Regions from separate parts of the Homo sapiens genome. Here region 2 is linked to region 1. Evidence: promoter capture Hi-C in human tissues and cell types (Jung and others, 2019). All regions are on one chromosome and are shown on one strand. The core of a region is centred on a gene start or on the middle of the fragment in contact, and the rest is flanking DNA. Distances in the headings are between cores, read along the strand shown.

Region 1 (4,358 bases), core at 1-2,500:
TGACAGCAGGAGGCAGCAGATTGCTGAGGCCCCCACATGGAGGAGGATGTAGAACAGGCGGCTGCAAGTGGATGCGGTGAGAGAGGGCCACCTAGAGTGGCAGCAGCTGGCACAAGGAGCAGGCCCACAGCAGCACACCTGGGAGTAGAGCAGATGCAAGGCAGCGAGGTGGAGACTTGCTGAGGAAAGGCATACGTTAATGTATGTGTGAGGTTAACCCAGGAGGTTGAATTCCAAAATTTCCCCTTCCCCTTTCTTCCTTTTACTCAGGTTCTGTTTCAAGCTGATTCCAGCCATTTGGGATTGCCGCCCACTGACAACTTAGTAGGGCTTTCATTATAAGCAGGCTTGAGATATCTGACCTTTCTCTCGACCTAAACACCTGGGGCTGGAAACATGGCGGGAGAGATTTACAGATTATACCTGGGGCAACGAACCAGAACGACATTAGAGGAGAAAAGAGGCCTGTCGTTTTTATTGGCTTCTGCACGTCTTCCTCCCCAGCTTCGGCCACTCTCCCCTTCGCACCCTCTCACCTGACAGAAGGGACTTTTCACTAGGACACTGCTGCCTCCGCTGTGCTGCTGTGCCAGGCCCAGGGAGGTGCCGGGGCTGGGGCCGGCCTTGGCACCCACCATCCTTGTCCCAGGGATTAGGCTTAGGTCCACCAGATGGAAGGCAGATGAGAGCAGCAGTTGCTTCTGTCCTCAGCCCATTGGACTGCCACTGTGTTGGGGCTGAGCACCCGGTCCCGGGCAGAATGGAGACGTCCGGAAGAGAACACTGACCTCCAGGTTGCGGTAAATGCAAATGCCCTGTGAAGGAGCTTTGTCCTTAGGGCCTCAACACTGCGGCCACTCAGGCTGTTCTCTCCAGATTAGGGGGCAGTTTGTCTATCTGGCCCCCTGTGGATTAGCATTCTTTATTGGTTTAGGATTAGACGTCATTCAGGTTGAACGGAGTTCCCTGAGGTGGGTGGGTGCGTGTTTATGTGTTGAGGGGACTATTCCTAGTTTATGAGGTGGTTAAGGATATCGGTGGGGTGGGCTGGAGCGGTGTCGGGTTAGGTCTGAGAGAAGGCCTCGCACAAAACACTGTACAAACCCGAAAGGAAGTCTGAGAGACGAACCGCCTTCCTCCCTGAAGCTTCTAGAACTGGAGCAGAAAGAAGGTGTGGCCCAGGGCCAGCCCCGCCTCCTCCCCGGGCGGAAGCTGTGTCAGTTGCCGGAAGTCGGCGTGAGGTGGGGCTTATGCGGCGGCGTGGTGAAATAGATATGGCGACCGAGGGGGATGTGGAGCTGGAGTTGGAGACTGAGACCAGTGGACCAGAGCGGCCTCCGGAGAAGCCACGGAAACATGACAGCGGTGCGGCGGACTTGGAGCGGGTCACCGACTATGCAGAGGAGAAGGAGATCCAGAGTTCCAATCTGGAGACGGTAAGGTTGGCCAAGAGCATGTCGGGGCGGGCTGAGAGCAGAGGGGGGCTCTGAGGCTGTAGCTGGAAGCCAGCGCTCCAAGACGGGGTTCTGATCCCGTTGGCAGGAGGAGGCAATAGGGTAGAGCCGAGGGAAACAGCGGTCACCGGAGCGCGCCGCTTGCCTAAAGGAGCTTGATAGTGGGCTTAAGGGGACCTCAGGTGCATAGAATGGAATTAAACATAGTCCTTGCTACCTGGTAACACTTGTCATCGTGAATCCATGCATGAACCGCTTGTTTTGTTGGCCTTTTAGATTATTGGGAATTGTGGGTAGCGGTGCAGTAACTAGACCTGCCTTTCCCATAGGCCATGTCTGTGATTGGAGACAGAAGGTCCCGGGAGCAGAAAGCCAAACAGGAGCGGTAAGTCTTCAGGGGCAGCCAACTTTAACAGTTCTTCCCTCCCCGGTCCCCAGACAAAAATAAAAACCATTATTAAGCCTTTATACCGTTCTTCAAATTTATCACCAATTCCTGCAGATCTAGGCGCCACAACTTTACTCTTGTTAGCAGAAGGCCTCCTGGCAACACCTGCTGCCAAGACTCCAGGGGAAAGGAGTATTAGTGGGAGTTTTTATTTTCAATCAAGGGTTTATCAAGATTTATTTACAGGGCACTTCTGGGAATGACCCTTCCTGGGAGTTTATGGTGTTGGTTGAGAATGAGGACTAATATATTTAAATATTTTTGCAGGGAGAAAGAACTGGCAAAAGTCACTATCAAGAAGGAAGATCTGGAGCTAATAGTGAGTGGTAGTGCCTAACTAGTGTATGCGGAGGGGAGGCTATTCTGCTTAATTTGGGTTGTTTCCTGAAACAAGCGGAGTCAGTATATTTGGTGGCACATTAATGCCTGGGAACCTATGTAACATGATTTTTTTCTGCAGATGACTGAGATGGAGATATCTCGAGCAGCAGCAGAACGCAGTTTGCGGGAACACATGGGCAACGTGGTAGAGGCGCTTATTGCCCTAACCAACTGATGCGTGCTTTCTCAAATATACCTACTGGATTAATTTATGGCAATAAAATTTTTTTTTGTCTTTTTCAGTTTTATCATCTTGGGTCAAGTAGAGTGTATACTATATCCTATGTTGTGGAGAATTTATATGTTGGAGACTAACTGAATTTAAGTGACCCATTAAAATCTAGCACACCTGTATGAAAAATCAGTGTAGAAGAATACCTCATGTGCAGATGCTAGGTGGCAGGCCAGTCTCATTCATCTGACTAGCTCTCAACAGTATTCAAGGTACATCTGGAGTCTCAGCAGAGTTACTGTACTCAAATGGCATGTGTCTCCAAGACAGCTTATGAATATCTAAAAGGCCAGCTACCTGCCTAGGAGCCACTATATATATAGATAGATGTAGGTTATGAACCCAGTTCATAGGCCACCTTGAGTTAGAATTTTGGTACCTACAACATGCTTGATTTTGAGTGATTAAAAAAAAATAATTTGGCTGGGTGCTGTGGCTCACACCTCTAATCCCAGCACTTTGGGAGGTCGAGGCAGGTAGATCACGAGGTCAGGAATTCAAGACCAGCCTGGCCAACATGTGAAACCCCGTCTCCACTGAAAATAGAAAAATTAGCTGGGCATGGTGGTGGGCGCCTATAATCCCAGCTATTCTGGAGGCTGAGGCAGGAATCGCTTGAAATTGGAAAGCAGAGGTTGCAGTGAGCTGAGATCACACTACTGTACTACTGTACTCCAGCCTGGGGGAAAGAGTGAAACTCCATCTCAAAAAAAAAAAAAAAAAAAAAAGCCCGGGCACAGTGGCTCACACCTGTAATCCCAGCACTTTGGGAGGCTGAGGCAGTCGGATCATGAGGTCAGGAGTTGAAGACAAGCCTGGCCAACATGGTGAAACCCTGTCTCTACTAAAAATACAAAAAAAATAAAATTAGCCAGGCGTGGTGGTGCATGCCTGTAGTCCCAGCTACTCAGGAGGCTGAAGCAGAAGAATTGCTTGAACCAGGGAGGCGGAAGTTGCAGTGAGCTGAGATTGTGCCACTGTACTCCAGCCTGGGTGACAGAGCGAGACTGTCTCAAAAACAAAACAACAAAAAAGAATTTAGGGGCCAGGCATGGTGGCTCATGCCTGTAATCCCAACACCTTGGGAAGCTGAGGCAAGACGATCACTTGAGCCCAGCAGTTTGAGACCAGCTTGGGCAACACAGTGAGATTTCGTCTCTACCGCGCTCCCCCCACCACCAAAAAAAGAATTTAGGTACCTGAGGGTTAGAACATGGTAAGACTAGAAGATATCAAAGGTTGGGCCAGGTGTGGTGACTCATGCCTGTAACCCCAGCACTTTGGGGAGGCTGGGCTGGGAGGACTGTGTCAGGTCAGGATTTCCAGACCAGCCTGGGCAACATAGCATGACCTTGTCTCTACTAAAATTAAAAAAAAAAAAAGCCAGGCATGGTGGCATGTGCCTGTCTGTGGTCCCAGATACTCTGGAGGCTGAGATGGATTTGCTTGAGCCTGGGAGGTTGAGGCTGCAGTGAGCTGAGATTGTGCTACTGCACTCCAGCCTGGGCGACAGAGCAAGACTGTCTCAAAACGAAAAAAACCTATGAAAGGTTTTGATTGGTATTCAAATTCTAAGCCATAATACATTCTACATGCCATTTCCTATCCTAGAGAGAAGGTAATTTTACTTTAAAGGTTAATCAGGGCCGGGCGTGGTGGCGCATGCCTATAATCCCAGCACTCTGGGAGGCCGAGGCAGGTGGATCACCTGGGATCAGGAGTTTGAGACGAGCCTGGCCAAAATGGTGAAACCCCATCTCTACTAAAAGTACAAAAAAAAATTAGCTGGGTGTGGTGGTGGACGCCTGTAATTCCAGCTACTAGGGAGGCTGAGGCAGGAGAA
Region 2 (4,106 bases), core at 456-2,955, 330 kb after region 1:
CCCAAGTAACTAGAAGTAAGGGGAATAGTCCAGTCAAGAGAACGTTAAGCTAATTAAACTAATGTACTTCCCTCATACCAATCACTGGGCACTGCTACATTCATGAACTATAAATACTTTTTTAAGTACTTTGATCCTAATGAATGTTCATTCTGCAATTGGTCACTTTAAATAATAAACACCTAGAGAGGAACAATCTTTCTGTATTCTATAGAACAGAACATGTTTCATATAGTCATTTAATAAACGTTCTTTTGAAATGGAGTCTCGCTCTGTCGCCCAGGCTTGAGTGCAGTGGTGCAATATCGGCTCACTGCAGCCTCCACCTCCCAGGCTCAAGGAAGTTCACGCAATTCTCATGCCTCAGCCTCCCAAGCAGCTGAGATTACAGACATTCACCACCACACCGACTAATTCTTGTATTTTTGGTGGAGACAGGGTTTCGCCATGTTGGCCAGCCTGGTCTCAGACTCCTGACCTCAAGTGATCTGCCCGCCTTGATGTCCCAAAGTGCTGTGATTACAGGCGTAAGCCACCACACCCAGCCTAATAAATGCTTTTTTATTGTGAAGGTAGTAAGAGACTTATACCCAGATCTCAATCTGGAGTCTTCAGTGTTCATTTCAGAAACTGAAAAGCAATGACTATCCATCACCACTCCCCACTTCCATGACTACTGTACAATCTCAACTTCATTGCTCTTGGCTCTCCTTTCCCTCAATTATATTTATTAATAAAAATAACCAGGCCGGGTGCAATGGCTCACAACCCGTAATGCCAGCACTTTGGGAAACTGAAGCGAGAGGATCACTTGAGCTCAGGAGTTTGAAATCAGCCAGGGCAACATGGCGAAACCTCATCTCTACAAAAAAATACAAAAATTAGCTGGGCATGGGGCACACCTGTAGTCCCAGCTACTTGGAAGGCTGAGGTGGGAGGGCCGCTTGAGCCTGGGAGGTTGAGGCTGCAGGGAGTTGTGATCTCACCACCGCACTCCAGCCTGGGCAATAAAATGAGAGTCTGTCTCCAAAATAAATAAATAAATAACCCAGCAGATGTCGATAATATTCTAAGATAACAAACTTTTAGTAACGTGAAGGAGGCAGCTGTAGCAATCTGGCTTTTCAACATTTTCCCTTTTGCTTATGCTTCCATTTTTAATTATTTAACTTATTTAGCAGCTATGCCAAGAGAGAGGAAGGTAAAATTTCGCCCCCACCGTACAGACAGAATCATGGCAGTTACATTTCAATGAAGCTTCTGAGAAAAAAAGCAATCTTCAAAAAATGCCCAAAAGAGCAACTATTTTTATATCCATACTATTTAGCACTCATGAGTTAAGAAATTAAGTTTCACTGGGCACAGGGGCTCAGGCCTGTAATCTCAGCACTTTGGGAGGCCGAGGCGGGTGGATCACATGAGGTCAGGAGTTCAAGACCAGCCTGGCCAACATGGCGAAACCCTGTCTCTACCAGAAATACAAAAATTAGCTGGGCGTGGTGGCGCAGGCCTGTAATCCCAGCTGCTGGGGAGACTGAGGCAGAATCACTTGAACCTGGGAGGCAGAGGTTGCAGTGAGTCGAGATCATGCCATTGCACTCCAGCCTGGGTGACAAGAGCAAAATTCCATCTCAAAAAAATAAATAAATAAAAATAAATTAAGTTTCACAAAGTAGTATCATTGAGAAAGAAATGGGATTATGAAGCTGATTAAGATATATGGTAGGCATACATCACTAGGATTTCAATATTGGCATTCATCATTGAGTAGGTTAGGGTATTCCTAGATATGTGCTTACCTAAGCAAACTGGTACCATTATTCAAAAATAAAATAGTCATACAGTAAATAATATGACTACTTTCAGGAGCTCTTCTACCATCCCCTCAACATCATTCTTCCTTTAAACTGAAGATGATAGGAATCAGAAGGAATTAAGACTGAATTTTTAAGATTTGAACAAGGATAGAAATAGGGAAATTAAAGGAGCTAAAAAAAAGAAAAAGAAAAAAAAACAACACAGAATGATGTGGTACGAAGTCCCTAAGCATGAGTGGGGAGAGAAGGCATATATAATGAGTTACTTTTGGAGAAGGTAGGCAGTGTTAACCAAACAGCAGCTAGGAGTACAACATTAGTGGAGGTCTGAAGCTCTTTACACAGTCAACAGCACTGGGCATAAAACATTTCCACATTATAAAATCTCAGGCAAGTCCTACTTTGAAAGAGATAATACAAAAACTGAGACTACAGGCTAACCTTAATCCAAATAGCCCTTAAGGATCAATGTCAATTATATTGGAAACATGTACAGAAAGCTCTTATGATTCCCCAATCTAAAATGAAAAAAAAAATCCCTTGCTTACATGCTATTTTTTAAAGTCAATTCAAGAAACTCCATCTAGTAAAAAATAATTTTGTCTCTAAAGCCAAAACCCAACTTTTGTATACTTAGTAAACATTTCATAAACCTAAAACCTGACCATTTTGATTATAAGTCAGATTCTAGAATTGCAAGAAGCATTGTCCCAAAAATGTAATAAGCAAAGGAATCACAGACTTTATCCCAGGGCTATGGAACTGTAACAACTTTGTCCTGTTTCTGAAGAATCCAGTGAGGAGTGATGGCAATTCCTCTGATTATGTCTTTATCCTGTCATCTATATCTCAGAGGCACTTTTTTTTTAATTTAAAATAAACAAAAAGTTAAAGTAATCCTTAGAGGTTCTCTGCAGTCCCCAGATATTAGAACTCAGTTTCTGCTTCAATATCCCATTAACTCCAAACTAGGAAAGACAGCTTAAAGTCATTTCCAAGGGCATCAAGAGATACTGTAGGATAGGCTTTTAGAGTGAAGCTTCTAACAGCCGTCCACATCACAAAAATGACCTAACTAGAGCCCAAAACAGAAGGAAGAGCCTTTTCCTCTCCAATTTTCACAGTCATTTTGTTTCTTCCAACAGAAAAGTCATTCTAGATGCTTTCACTTGCAGCAGTTCCTCAGGTTAGTAACTAGGACCCTTCCCATGATTGACTTCTGGCAAGGAACAAATGAGCCCCAGGCAAAGCACATGGGTCAGCAAACTTTTATAACCACTGTTTCCCAGAGAACATCAGCTTGGGGAAGGCCAACCAAGGACCTCAATGTCCACATTTACAATGTCAACTCTCCCTAACTCAGTGTCCTCTTCCTTCTCTTAAAAGATGCTGGGATGGTTTGCACCTTGCTTGGTGATTCCTGTGGTCAATGGCGCTCCCTCCAGGTGGGCTGCACTAATACTATAACCACCCTCTCCCCTCTAAACCCATCATGCTTCAGCAGGTTGCTAACACTCGTCACCATTATCACATCTATTACCCTGTGCAAGGTGAGGACCATGAGAGACTGACATCCCCGCCAATCCTTGGAGGCAAGAGGATTCGCCCACTAGTCTGGGACAGCTCTGCCTCGCCTTCATGGCCTTTTTCCCCACGGTGGCAAAGTCTATTAGATTCCTTCCCCAGGACCCTGATGGCATTCCTTTCCAACTCTTTTTCCAAAGATTACACTTCAGTTCTACTATTCCAGGGAACTTCCAAGTGAGACACCTGGCTCACTAGTAAAGCTTAGTTTTAGGTGACCCTGAATAACTAATAAGAAAAAGGATAAATCTATTGCAGTCCAGGCAAAGTGAACCTTCTTCAAAGTTCTAAAAAATGACTCTGGAGCAAGTCTTTCCATAATATGTTATTATCTACTAGAACTATAAAACCTGTTTAAGAATTTGTATGCTTAGCACTTCAGAAGGTACATATTTCTTCCAAACTTGAATAGTTACAAATTACAGGGCAGCACCTGTTTACAGTTGTATGGAACAAATGGAAAAAAGTAAGAGGGAGAAAGCATAGCATCTCTTGTGGAACTTTCATTCATTAGAACTTCAAAGCACAAAATGCATAGATTTACAGATTTACTTACAACCTTGACTCTGGCAAGCAGAAGCCAGCTTAGCATAAACTAGTTGGTGTTTACATTAAAAGAAATTATTATTTATATACTAGTAATTTCACAGTAATAGCAGTAGCAAAAAATAAGTAAATAAATAAATAATTTGTTTTCTTTGACAC

The links. Contacts are between HindIII fragments. The study calls those that stand out against the background at their distance.
Region 2: a contact is called between a fragment that was not itself captured here and the fragment with the promoter of HYPK in region 1, in 2 of the 25 tissues and cell types used here (dorsolateral prefrontal cortex and hippocampus).

What each region holds. Positions count from the first base shown.
Region 1 is chr15:43,799,349-43,803,706 of GRCh38, forward strand. HYPK (huntingtin interacting protein K) reads left to right here and starts at 1,251. Exons shown (of 4, transcript NM_016400.4): 1 at 1,251-1,436; 2 at 1,784-1,839; 3 at 2,170-2,221; 4 at 2,363-4,358. The coding sequence starts at 1,275. The coding sequence ends at 2,458. It overlaps SERINC4 (serine incorporator 4), which reads right to left and starts at 872. Exons shown (of 12, transcript NM_001258031.2): 1 at 537-872; 2 at 1-138. The coding sequence starts at 638. SERF2-C15ORF63 (SERF2-C15orf63 readthrough) reads left to right here. Exons shown (of 6, transcript NR_037673.1): 3 at 1,147-1,436; 4 at 1,784-1,839; 5 at 2,170-2,221; 6 at 2,363-3,241. RefSeq lists enhancers at 1-669, 670-1,370, 1,278-1,527. The HindIII fragment of the contact is 6,811 bases long and covers 1-4,358 here.
Region 2 is chr15:44,126,845-44,130,950 of GRCh38, forward strand. All of the region lies in intron 1 of FRMD5 (FERM domain containing 5), which reads right to left. Among named protein-coding and RNA genes, the nearest start is that of FRMD5, 66 kb to the right of the region's middle. The HindIII fragment of the contact is 3,050 bases long and covers 181-3,230 here.